Regions from separate parts of the Homo sapiens genome. Here all the other regions are linked to region 1. The links are contacts of gene promoters, found by promoter capture Hi-C in blood cells and fetal thymus (Javierre and others, 2016). All regions are on one chromosome and are shown on one strand. Each heading gives the region's core, a stretch centred on a gene start or on the middle of the fragment in contact. The rest is flanking DNA. Distances are from core to core; before and after follow the strand shown.

Region 1 (3,900 bases), core at 352-2,851:
GTGGGCTGAAGGGCTCCTCAAGTGCCGCCAAAGTGGCAGCCCAGGCAGAGGAGGCGCCGAGAGTGAGGGAGGGCTGTGAGGACTGCCAGCACGCTGTCACCTCTCAAGATCTCATTACCTTGTCCAGGCTGGTCTTGAATTCCTGAGCTCAAGTGATCCTCCTGTCTTGGCCTCCCAAAGTGTTAGGATTACAGGCATGAGCTGCTGTGCCTGGCCAAAAGTAACTTGATAATTTGCACACAGGTGCCACATAATCCTGGTGGTACAGGTTGTACTGTCCAATACACTAGCCACATTTTACTTAAAGTGATGTGAAATTTAAAGTTCAGTTCCTCAGTCATGCTAGACAATTTACAAGTGCCCAATGGCCACATGTGGCTAGTGGCTACTGTATTGGGCAATGTTTAGGTATCGAAAATTTTCACCATCACAGAAGGTTCTATTGCACAGCACTGGACAGACCCTGCTTCTAAACTATTCTACGCAATTTGCTAGGTGAACGATCTTTAATGCAAATCTAAACATGGTCTTCTTTTGCTCAAAAGCCTTCAATGATTTTCTCTTCCATCAGCAGCAATCAGTTAATAGAGTTTTTTTCTTTTAAAAATGGTTGTAATGGAAAGTTAAATCAATTTTGAATCAATTTTGTGTGTTAAGACCAGCATTAAAAACAAGTAGCAAAAGAGAGAAGGGAAAGTACTTATGGATCATTAGTACAGTTTTGTGAAATTTTTGTTTTGGTCATATCTATATTTCTTTGCCTCTATAACTAGATTTCCACCTCTTCATAACTTGATGTCTGTATGATATTCCACTGGGTTGCAATGAAAAAAATCTTTCTAGTTGTGTGTGGTGAGCAAAAAATTTGGGCTTATGGGATAAGAAGTCTGAGCTCCGTAATGAAGCATTATAAGGCCCTCTATGATCTGATCCCTTGCTAATTCATTTCTAAGTCTCACCACTGTCTTGCACTTAGGTTCCATTAATACAGAATTGCTGCTGGTTTCACCTGAGACACGAAGCTTTATTTTTCTTTTCTTTTTTCCATCTCTGTTGCGTTTCCTCATTCTGAACTGTTTCCTTGGACTGCCAGTTCTACCTTCTTTTTGCCTGGAGAACTTATCATCATCTAAGGCCAACTTAGGAAACACCTACAGCAGGAATCCTGCCTAAATGCTCCAGGGCGGGCTGGCTGTCCTTCTTTGACCTTTCAGAGCATCCCACACACATCCGTTTACGGGGTTATAATAACGTAATTATTTATTTAGGTGTTCATTTCCGGCACTATACTAAGTTCTTTCAGTGCAGGTACTATCTTATTCATCTTTGTATCTGAAGCGAGAAGCGCGGTACCTGTAACAAACTAGGCATTCATTCAATAAATATTTGTTGAAAGAATAAACGCAAGAAGGAAGGAAAAATCAATCAACAACTGTGCGGACAATGTCAGTGCAACGCAGACTCCGGCCATCAGAGGGCGCCGGGGCGGCTGGGCTGGTGCGCAGGCGCGCTGAGAGGGCTGGCGCCGCGGCGGTAGCGGTGGCGGTCGCGGCTGTGGCCGGGGGAAGTGAATGGTTTTACCCAGAGGGCCCTGCGCCGCCTTTCTCCGCTGGCAACGGCGCCGCTCCCCGCTCCTCCTCCCCAGCCATGGCGTTCACGTTCGCGGCCTTCTGCTACATGCTGGCGCTGCTGCTCACTGCCGCGCTCATCTTCTTCGCCATTTGGCACGTGAGTAGCTGGGGCTGGGGAAAGGAGGGCGAGGCGGCAACACAGCCTCTTTTCGCCCCGGGCCCGCGGTCCGGGCCGCCACGGCCGCCGGGGCTTTGCGCGTCGGGGATGCGGCCCGGCTGGCACGGGCCGCGCGGCGAGGGGTCTGGGGGCCGCGGGTACTGGAGGAGCCGGGGCGCGCAGTCGCCAGGTGGACGCGCCCGCGTTGCCTCGGCACAGGCCGCGCGCACCGCTACTCCTCCCCTACTGGATGGGGCGGCCGCGGTCCAGGCGGGCGCCCGCGGTTCCGCGCTGCGTTCGCACCGACCTCTGCCGGCCCGCGGCCCTGCATTCCCGGGGAGGATGTCGACAGCGCGGTGGGACGGCCGTAGTGTGAATGAAGTTTTCCGAATTTTTGTTAATACAGATTGACTTTCTTTTAGGGTTTCCACAGAACTGTGGCCAAAATGTAACCTACTTAGGGTGAATTTCCAACTCTACTTTTCAGCACTTGTTCGGTGCTCTTCAAATCAAATCACTTTTTTTCTCTTTTTCCAGATTGTTGTTTCCTGGTGAACTTTGATGCAAGTTCAATTGATTACTTTGTTGATTGCATGTGCGCGTTTCCCCCCCAAATCATACTTTGACCGCTGGAGTTTCAACAGGCAGCTTTCCAAGCCACCCTTATATTCAGGATTGCTTGATTTAGTAGAGGGAGTTTTCATTTGATTTTGAGATGCTCAGAAACCTTAAGCTTTTCTGGGGCAGTATTTATTTCTGTTACACACATCATCATCACTATTGCAGGGTGGAAGCACAGCCTTACTGGTCCCTCTAAGGAAAAAGTCGTAAGTTCCCTGTGACATAGTTCTACAGAGATAAGAATTTCTGTTGCTTTAGCACAAAATTAAAAGCCTTGAGAGCCTTCTGGAAATCATTCATTAAAAATTTATCTCATACTTGCTTCTCTTTTCCCCATATTCCAGTGCCTTCTGGAATGTTGCTTTTAATTTGAATGACCGCGTTCACTCTTACGTAGATTTTAAGTCAGGTTTCATCATGCCAGTAACAAGGATTTCTATGAAACATACGGAGGGGCAGAATGATTAAACAGCAGCAGCGTCTTGTGCAAAAAAGTCTCGAAAGTGGAAGCATATCACAAATCCATTCCTTTTTGCTAAGCAGTGTGATTATGTTTACAATTATTTTAGGACCTGACTGCTTATTGTAATCAGGAATACTTATGTAGGCTATTAACTGTGTCGGAAATAACTGCTACCTCAGAATGCTTGTCAGTAGGAGCAGTAATTTGAAGAGCATCTTCAGCCCTGCTTTGATGGAAGAACAATACCTAAGATAATTTGGGATACAGACTAGCTCAACCTTAGTAGGCCTCTGATGAAAATGTGTGGTTCCATGGCCGGGCGCGGTGGCTCACTCCTGTAATCCCAGCACTTTGGGAGGCCGAGGCGGGAGGATCACGAGGTCAGGAGTTCGAGACCAGCCTGGCCAACATGGTGAAACCCCGTCTCTACTAAAAATACAAAAAAATTAGCCGGGCATGGTGGTGGGCGCCTGTAATCCCAGCTACTCGGGAGGCTGAGGCGGAGGAGAATCACTTGAACCCAGGAGGCAGAGGTTGCAGTGAGCCGCGATGGCGCCACTGCACTCCATCCTGGGCGGAGACTCCGTCTCAAAAAAAAAACAAAAAAAAAGAAAGAAAGAAAGTGTGTGGTTCCATTCCATCTGTAGATGTAGCTTTAAGTCATTCTGCTTGATGGGTATTCCTTTTTTCTGGGATGATGGGGATTCTTAGAGTGGTGGGGTAGGCTTTTTCACATTTTTACGTTTTGAACCAGGTTGTGTTTGGCTTAAGGAAAACCTGAACCGCACTTTCAAAAAATGGGTAATTTCAGCTTAAACAAATGCGTGTCTGGGTGAAGTAAATAATTTTAAGTCGTGTTATACAATGAAAAAAAAATTATACCGCAGATTCGTGGAGAGCTTTTATGCTTAGGGATTTCTTCATTCAGAGAATTAGTATCCTTTTGGAAACAATTCTAAATAAATAGATAGTTTTAATTTTTCTATTACCCATATAACCTTATGTTTATCATCTTAGGTAGTATCTTAGTCCATTCCTTTATAGTGTTTATAGTGTTGCTATACAGGAATACGGGAGGCTGAGTAATT
Region 2 (3,900 bases), core at 794-3,293, 3.8 Mb before region 1:
GCGGATCACTTGAGGCCAGGGGTTTGAGACCAGCCTGGCCAACGTGGCAAAACCCCGTCTCTACTAAAAATGCAAAAATTATCCGGGCATGGTGGCACATGCCTGTAATCCCAGCTACTGGGGAGGCTGAGGCAAGAGAATCACTTGAACCCAGGAGGCGGAGGTTGCAGTGAGCCAAGATCGTGCCACTGCACTCTAGCCTAGGTGACAGAGTGAGACTCAGGTCTCAAAACAGAAACAGACATAGAAAAAATCTTTGCTGAATCGAACATGTGACTAATTGCATAAGACATTTAAAACACAAGATGTATGAGAAATAAAAAATAACAAGGTCACAAACCTAATGGCTGAGGAAGCCTATGATACAAATCAAGAATTTGAAAATGGAAAACAAAAAGATGATAATGAATGTGATTTATACACTCTGCAACATGGAAAATCTAAGTGGATAATCCTGGAATCAACGAGAAATATAGGACTGGGGCTCATGGAAAGCATCTGGCCTAGAAAGAGATCTGGAAATGAATAAATTGAGATTTGGGGACATATACTAATTTGTACCAAAGTAACATAACAAAGCCTAATCGCCAAAAATATATAAAATAAAAGGAGACATGTAATACCTGGTTAAATGTTTCTTACCTACTATTTTCCACAGCCTTCATAGCATATTCAACTTGAAAAACTCTTCCGTCAGGAGAGAATGTAGAGGCTGACAGGTCATACTTAAGGAGAAAAGGGCAACAGTAAGCTTGTATCTTTGGCAGTAATGACCATACAGTTTCTTCCCCTCTAAATGGCTGAAACATCAGGAACCTGTTATATCCCAACAAAGACCTTGCTTTCAAGAGAGGAAAGGGAAACTTGTCAGAGCAGCAACAGTAGCTAAGATAAAGCTATATACCTTCGATTTCAGCTATTGAAGAGTAATGGATACAGGTCCCAGGTGAAGTCAGAACACTTTTCACCCAGACTACAAAACTCATTTTTGAAAAAGATTAATATGGGGCAGTAGAACCAGCACTGGAGTTCGAACATTTAAATTTGTAACGATAACTCTGCCATTAACAAACTAAAAGACTTCAAACAAATCATTCGGCATTCACCAAGCAGTTAATGAGTATCTATTATGTTACTATACGGAATACAAAGGTATACTCATTCATTAAGTCCTTCAGTTTCACATCAGACATGAATCTAGGTGCTAGAGGTACAGCAGTAAATCAGAAAAGGCACTAAGATGAAAATAAAAGAGTAAAGCAATGAACTACTACAGACTACATCATCAGGGAAGGCCTTCTGGGCAGTTATATTTAGGCTGAGTCAAACCTAAATGACAAGGAGCTAGCCATTTAAGATATGAAGGAAAAGTCTTCTTGACATTTGGCACAAAGATCTTAGGGTAGAAATAAGGCTAGCACAGTCAAGAAACAGAAATAAGGTCACTGTGTCCCAAGCACTGTAAGCAGCAGAAAGAAGAGTAAACTGTGTTAGTGAGGTAGCTGAGGGCCAGATTATGTTGTGTCTTCCAGGATGGAAAAAGGACTCTGTATTTTATTCTAAATGCAATGAGAAATTTAAGCAGGGGGAGTGGTATCATCTATATTTTTAAAAACATCATTCTGGCTTTATGCGGAAAATAAGCTGTAGAGAGAACAACAGAAGCAAAGATAAGGTGTTCCAAAGATAGCGGTAGTAGCTTAGACGAGAGAAGAGGTAGAAGGGAATATTTTTTGAGAGTAGAGTAAAATATAAAAATAATAAAAATAAACTTGCTAGGCCAGGCGTGATGGCTCATGCCTGTAATCCCAGCACTTTGGGAGGGTGAGGCGGGCTGATCACAAGGTCAAGAGATGGAGACCATCCTGGCCAACATGGTGAAACCTCATCTCTACGAAAAATACAAAAATTAGCTGGGCGTGGTGGTGCGCACCTGTAGTCCCAGCTCTTCGGGAGGCTGAGACAGGAGAATTGCTTGAACCTGGGAGGCACAGGTTGCAGTGAGCCAAGATCGTGCCACTGCACTCCAGCCTGGCAACAGAGCAAGACTCCGTCTCAAACAAAATAAAAATAAAAAAATAAACTTGCTAAAGCGTTGGTTCTGGGAGTAAAGTAAAAAAAGGAATTAAAGATGAATAACAGATTTTTTCATATGACCATTCACTGAGCTGAAGACTGTAGTAGATGCAAAATGGCAAGGTGAGGAGAAAACCCAGAGCTCTACTTTCACATGCAGTACGAAATGACTATTAAACGATCAAGTGAACAGACATGTCAAGCAGACAAACAAATATTCGTATCTGGAGTTCTTGGGAGAAATGAAGACAGAAGAAAAGCCTTCAGCAGTGGTACTTTCTGAGTCTGTTTCCTGATCTGTTAAACCCAGATCATTAACCCTACCATTGTTACTAAAATATCCCACATGGTTACATTATCAAGTATTCTTTAAAAGGTTTGTAGAATGAAATACTATTAATTCAAGGTAATATTAATATAATTGCAAAGTCAGTTTGCTACAAGATTTAATATTGAGCATTTACTTATCCAAGAAAAGTATGGCAGAACTTTAGCATTCATAACTGAATGGATTAAACCATTCCAGACATAAGTTGCCTATTATCAAATTTAGAACACCGGTACTTGAACTTAAGGCTGAGCATGAGAATCTTGTTAAGAAGTAGAAATTGAGGAACTGAGAAACTCATTATTCAATAACTCTAGTGCAAATAACCAATAAATCTTTTAGAAACTGTATTTTCTATATAGAGAAGTACATAAAAGGAGTAAACTGACTGCACATATGCAATACGTTTAACAAAGGAAAGCCAAACAAGTTAACAAGTCCCACTGCAAAATCCTCAACAGTCTATGAAAAGTCTGAAGCTGTTAAGTTCCTAAGTAACCATTTAAACGTTTACGGAATAAATGCCTACAAGCGCTGTTAGGTAATTTGTATAGGAAAAACGAGAAAGGAAAAACTGAAGGATTCATCAGATTGTTTTTCAGACCATTTTTATTAGTTCTGTTCCGACAGGATTTCCAGTGACTCTTAAACTGAGCGGTCAATGATCTGCACACTTAAAGACAGAGAAGGCCTGTGAATCAGCAGCACCCTAGGAACTGCAAACGCAGTCCACAAAAAGCACGATCTCCAGACCCCGGAATCCCAAATCTCACTGCCTCGGTGGTTCTCAAGAGAACACACTATTTCAAGCCCCACGAGTTTCCACTTTCGGTTTCCCTAAGTGGCTGAAGAAAGTGACTCAGCAATCCAAAGCGGCTCCAAACCTCACTGCGGCGACGCCAAGCCGGCTACACCTGCGCTGAAAAGCTTCAGGAGTCACGGTCACCTGAGACGCAGGCCTAGCATATAGGGGATAAAGACGACCGGTCTCCAAACAGCTGCAAATGGCCCACCCAGCCGAAGGCGGTCTCAGAGCACCCCGGGTCCGCGAACCCCATGTGGTCTGTCCGAGTTCCCTTCAACCCCAATCCTTAGGTTAAACTATTACACCGACAGACAGCGAACTCACCCCAGTGCCGATTGAGCTCATCGTGCTAAACCCAAAGGGACGCGTAGGGATTCCAGGCCCGGAGCGCTTCCCCTATACCACAGGATGCCGCAAACTAGTAACAGGCCCGCTCATTGGCTGAACTGCCAACCAATAACCTTTTTCTCTGTGGCTCGTTCCGCGGCTCCGGCCCCCAGGACGAGGAGTATTGTGGGAAAAAAGCGGGCCGCGAGAGGCTGGCGGCGCGCATGTGCAGAAGCAATGGAGGCGGGGTTGGGGAAAGCAAAGGCTCCTCCTTCGGTTCGCGTACTTTGAGCCGCTTGGCGTCGTGGTATCTGAGAAGCTGCTCTATTCCTTTCCTTGGAATTATTATTTATCTTTTATATTA
Region 3 (3,900 bases), core at 985-3,484, 3.2 Mb after region 1:
TTAGTATGACCATTTATCTTGGGATAAAAAATTTAAATGTATAATTTATGAAGAATATTTCATATGAAAACACTGAAGATGATAAGGTGGTTAATTTTATGCAGATGAAAAACTTTTAAGGGTAGATCTAACAATCCGGAAATCAAGAATGATGAACTGATGATGCTAATCAAATAAAATTCTGAGAATAAGACACAGGATTTTTTCACATGCAAAACAGCTCTTTAGAAAACTTTTGCATTTCTCTATTAACGGTGTGGCCACCAGAAAGCTCAAGACCAAAGTTAGAGCTTACCAATTTTAATAATTTATAATGCAGAGTCACAAATGCAAGGTGTTGGAAAAACAGAAGTGTCCTGGGCTGTGGTGAATAAGAAAGCACATATTCCATCTTAAAGTGGCAACCATTATTAAGTAGGATTGCCACTAAGGATGCTGGCACACTAAGGCTGGCTATTCATATTTAAAAGAAGATGGAGAGCTGCATTTTTATATGAGAATGTTACCTCAAAAAATAACCCACACACAAATACTAAGCAGGCCAAACAAAACTCTTGGCCAGTTAGGTCATCCTGTTTCCAAGACCTTGGATTTACAAATGCAAGCATATTAGCATTTAAATTACTCCTCTGGTATTATCTCCTGAGGATCTTATTTTTCCACTTTATTGTATTTTATCTTATAATACACCACAGGGTTGTTCTTTTTTTTTTTTTTTTTTTAACAGAACCAGGAAGAATAAAGCCTAAAGCAGTTAAACACAAAACTATACTTTCTGTACTTCACATTTTCTTCACTTGTTTTATGAAAACCAAACTCCTAAAATAGACATTGTAGAACAAGACAAACTGGTAGTATAAAAGCCAAGCTCCTAACAATAAATCGTATTACAATGAAAATATCTCCATGACAAAACTTCTGAGCAGAAATGGATTTACTGTAGATAATTCACTTGTAATTAGGAGCAGACTATTACTAAAACTACTAGAGTCCTTCTTTTTCAGGTTCGTTTTGTTGCTCAGTTGCTTTTTTATTTTTTGAAACAGGGTCTCGCTTTGTTACCCAGGCTGGAGGGCAGTGGCGCCATCTGGGCTCACTGCAACCTCAACCTCCCGGGCTCAAGACATCCTCCCACCTCAGCCCAAGTAGCTGGGACTACAGATGCCTGCCCACACGCCCAGCTAATTTTTCGTATTTTTTTGTAGAGACTGGTTTTTGCCATGTTGCCCAGGCTGTCAGTTGCTTTCTAAAAACTTACTTTAGAATCTCTACTTAAGGAAAAAGAAAAACTACTACTCTATAGCATAATTTCAGATAGATGCTCCAATGTGGATTTACCTCATACTCAATGTTTTGTTAGTCTTGTTCTCCTTAATACTACTTCTGATTGCTGTATTTATATAGTTGGACCATAATGAGTTAAAAAATATCCTTGAGTAATACTTGACTGTATTTTGCATATACACACACGATCACTATTGCTTAATATATTGCTTATAACACTATTTTACAGGCACGATCTAAAACAAGTTACTCATGATGATGACTGAAAAAGTGTCACAGTTCCTCTCCCCTGAAGCTTTCAATGGTGCCTGAATGAAAATTCATTTCAGAATTGCAGACTACATGCATACTATGAAAATTTCCCTTTATCTTACCCTCCATATAAATGTTCTACTTTTTTTTTGAGATTGAGTCTCACTCTGTCGCCCAGGCTGGAGTGCAGTGGTGCGACCTCGGCTCACTGCAACCTCTGACTCCCAGATTCAAGCGATTCTTCTGCCTCAGCCTCCCGAGTAGCTGGGACTACAGGCGCGTGCCACCACGCCCAGGTAATTTTTTGTATTTTTAGTACAAACGGCGTTTCACCGTGTTAGCCAGGATGGTCTCGATCTCCTCACCTCGTGATCCACCGGCCTCGGCCTCCCAAAGTGCTGGGATTACAGGCGTGAGCCACCGCGCCGGCCAGTTTTGTTTTTTTAAAAAATAACACAGGACTTACTGATTTAGCCTTCTGGGTTCTCCCTTGGGGATGTCACTTTCACTGGCCTCCTTAACTTGACAACCCTTGCTGTATTCGTGACACAAGAAAACACTCACCTGAACCCTGTTGTCTTTTCATTTTTATTTATTTACTTATTTATTTTGCTAGTTGCCCAGGATCTCTTGAACCCCTGGGCTCAAGTCATCCTCATACCTCAATCTCCTGGGTAGCGTACGCCACTTCCAGCTGAACCTTTTTAAAGAAGAAGGTGTTCTAACAACAATTATTGTATGCCTACTCTGAAGACCCAAAGAAAGCCAGCACAGCAATATCTGCATAGGTTAACTAAAGTATTTAGGTATCTTGTTACTCATTTGTAAAACGTGAAAAACACCTGTCATAGAGAATTTGTAGGGAATTAAATATGGTATTCGTGTAAAGGTGCTTAGTGGTGTCCAGTACACTGTTAATAATTATGCTTTTACTATTATCAGTAAATACTGCTAATATGTATAATACCACCATCAACAACGACTTAGCATCTAAAGCAAAGACAGATACTTTATTTCCCACCGCGGCAGAACAGATATTATTAAATTGAAATCACCACACAAAATACATGATTTCGTTCGAGCAATAAATGATGACCTGGCGCTCTTGAGAGTGTATACATTAATACATTATCTTTTAATGTAATACCATTTACAAAGACCTAGGAGTCACAACCCAAGGTATTCTCTACACTACAAAGACACCCAAAGGAAAAATGAGATGAGGAGTGAAAAAAAGAGAAAGCAAAAGAGGAGGCAAAAAGAGAAAACGAAAACTTAAAAATAACCCAACTTGAATTGACTCAGTATTTACAATAAAAAAGAAACGTACCCAATCCATTAAAAAAAGCTTAAAAGCGCCAAATTCCAACACCATAAAGAGACTATCTTTTAAGGACAGACAAAACGAGAGGAGAAATTTTGCTCAATATTCTCTTATGTAAAATGTGGTGAAAATAAGTGTAGAAGTCTGTGAAGAATCACTTTAACTACTTAGACACGAGTCGGACACCTCCCTCCCCGCGCCCCAGTCGCATCCTCAAAGTCATGAAAAATGTCAGAATTCGCATTGGCACTAACCCTTTGGGCGCACCACAACCCAAGAAACGAAACGAGGGTGCACCCCAGAAGAAACTTAACATTCACGGGTAAGAGACGAGGGGGTGGGACCAAGCTGGCGGCAGATCCCAAGAGTTTGGGGAGCTGCAGAAGTCGGGGACGCTCGCTCCGCAACTCGGAGGCGCAGTCCTGGGGAGCCTGCGACCCGCACGAGGAACGTGCGGGGTGAAGTCGTGTGTCCAGGCACGGACGTAGGACCCTGGCCGCCCCGCACTCACAATTCTATCATCCAGTCTCCTTCCAGCAGTTCTCTCCAGTTCTCGTCCGTGATGACGCGAACGTTGCTCCGCCGCCCGTGCGTCCAGGGAGCACCCCAAAGCAACAGCACCAGGACTGCCAGGGGAACTGCAAGACTCCCGGAGGGCGCCATTTCGCCGCTTGCCCACCTCACAGGGAGCGCGGTCGCAGCTCCCACTTCCGCCCTCGCGGGCTGCTCAGCGCAAGCGCACTACGGTGCTGCGAGGAGCGCCTGTCTAGAGGACTCTCAATGCGCATGACAGGGGTCTGATCCCAGTGAGTGGTGAAGTCGGGAAAGAGGGAAGAACGACTCTCCGCAATGCGCATGACAGAAAAGCGGCTGCTTCTACCGCCTAGGGTGTCCCAATATTGTGGGGGAAGGAACAGAGCAAAAGGAGGCGTGGTGTAAAAAGTGGGGCGGTGCTTTGAGGAAGAACGGTTTAAAAGACCCTCCCAGGATTTTGGCGCCAAATGGTTAGCGTTTACAAGCAAATTGGTAAGTTTATAATG

The links. Contacts are between HindIII fragments. The CHiCAGO score rates a contact against its expected background, and 5 or more counts as called.
Region 2: a contact is called between a fragment that was not itself captured here and the fragment with the promoter of CNIH1 in region 1, in 1 of 17 cell types (fetal thymus). The highest score is 5.4, in fetal thymus.
Region 3: a contact is called between a fragment that was not itself captured here and the fragment with the promoter of CNIH1 in region 1, in 1 of 17 cell types (fetal thymus). The highest score is 6.5, in fetal thymus.

The regions. Positions count from the first base shown.
Region 1 is chr14:54,439,075-54,442,974 of GRCh38, reverse strand. CNIH1 (cornichon family member 1) reads left to right here and starts at 1,601. Exons shown (of 5, transcript NM_005776.3): 1 at 1,601-1,728. The coding sequence starts at 1,648. RefSeq lists enhancers at 1,258-1,317, 1,194-1,992 and silencers at 1,398-1,667, 1,708-2,067, 2,078-2,127. The HindIII fragment of the contact is 1,439 bases long and covers 1,025-2,463 here.
Region 2 is chr14:58,244,575-58,248,474 of GRCh38, reverse strand. PSMA3 (proteasome 20S subunit alpha 3) reads right to left here and starts at 3,632. Exons shown (of 11, transcript NM_002788.4): 1 at 3,534-3,632; 2 at 643-725. The coding sequence starts at 3,554. RefSeq lists enhancers at 3,159-3,608, 2,723-3,620, 3,789-3,900. The HindIII fragment of the contact is 2,580 bases long and covers 754-3,333 here.
Region 3 is chr14:51,239,916-51,243,815 of GRCh38, reverse strand. It overlaps TMX1 (thioredoxin related transmembrane protein 1), which reads right to left and starts at 3,569. Exons shown (of 8, transcript NM_030755.5): 1 at 3,372-3,569. The coding sequence starts at 3,523. RefSeq lists an enhancer at 3,291-3,530 and a silencer at 3,391-3,733. The HindIII fragment of the contact is 1,305 bases long and covers 1,582-2,886 here.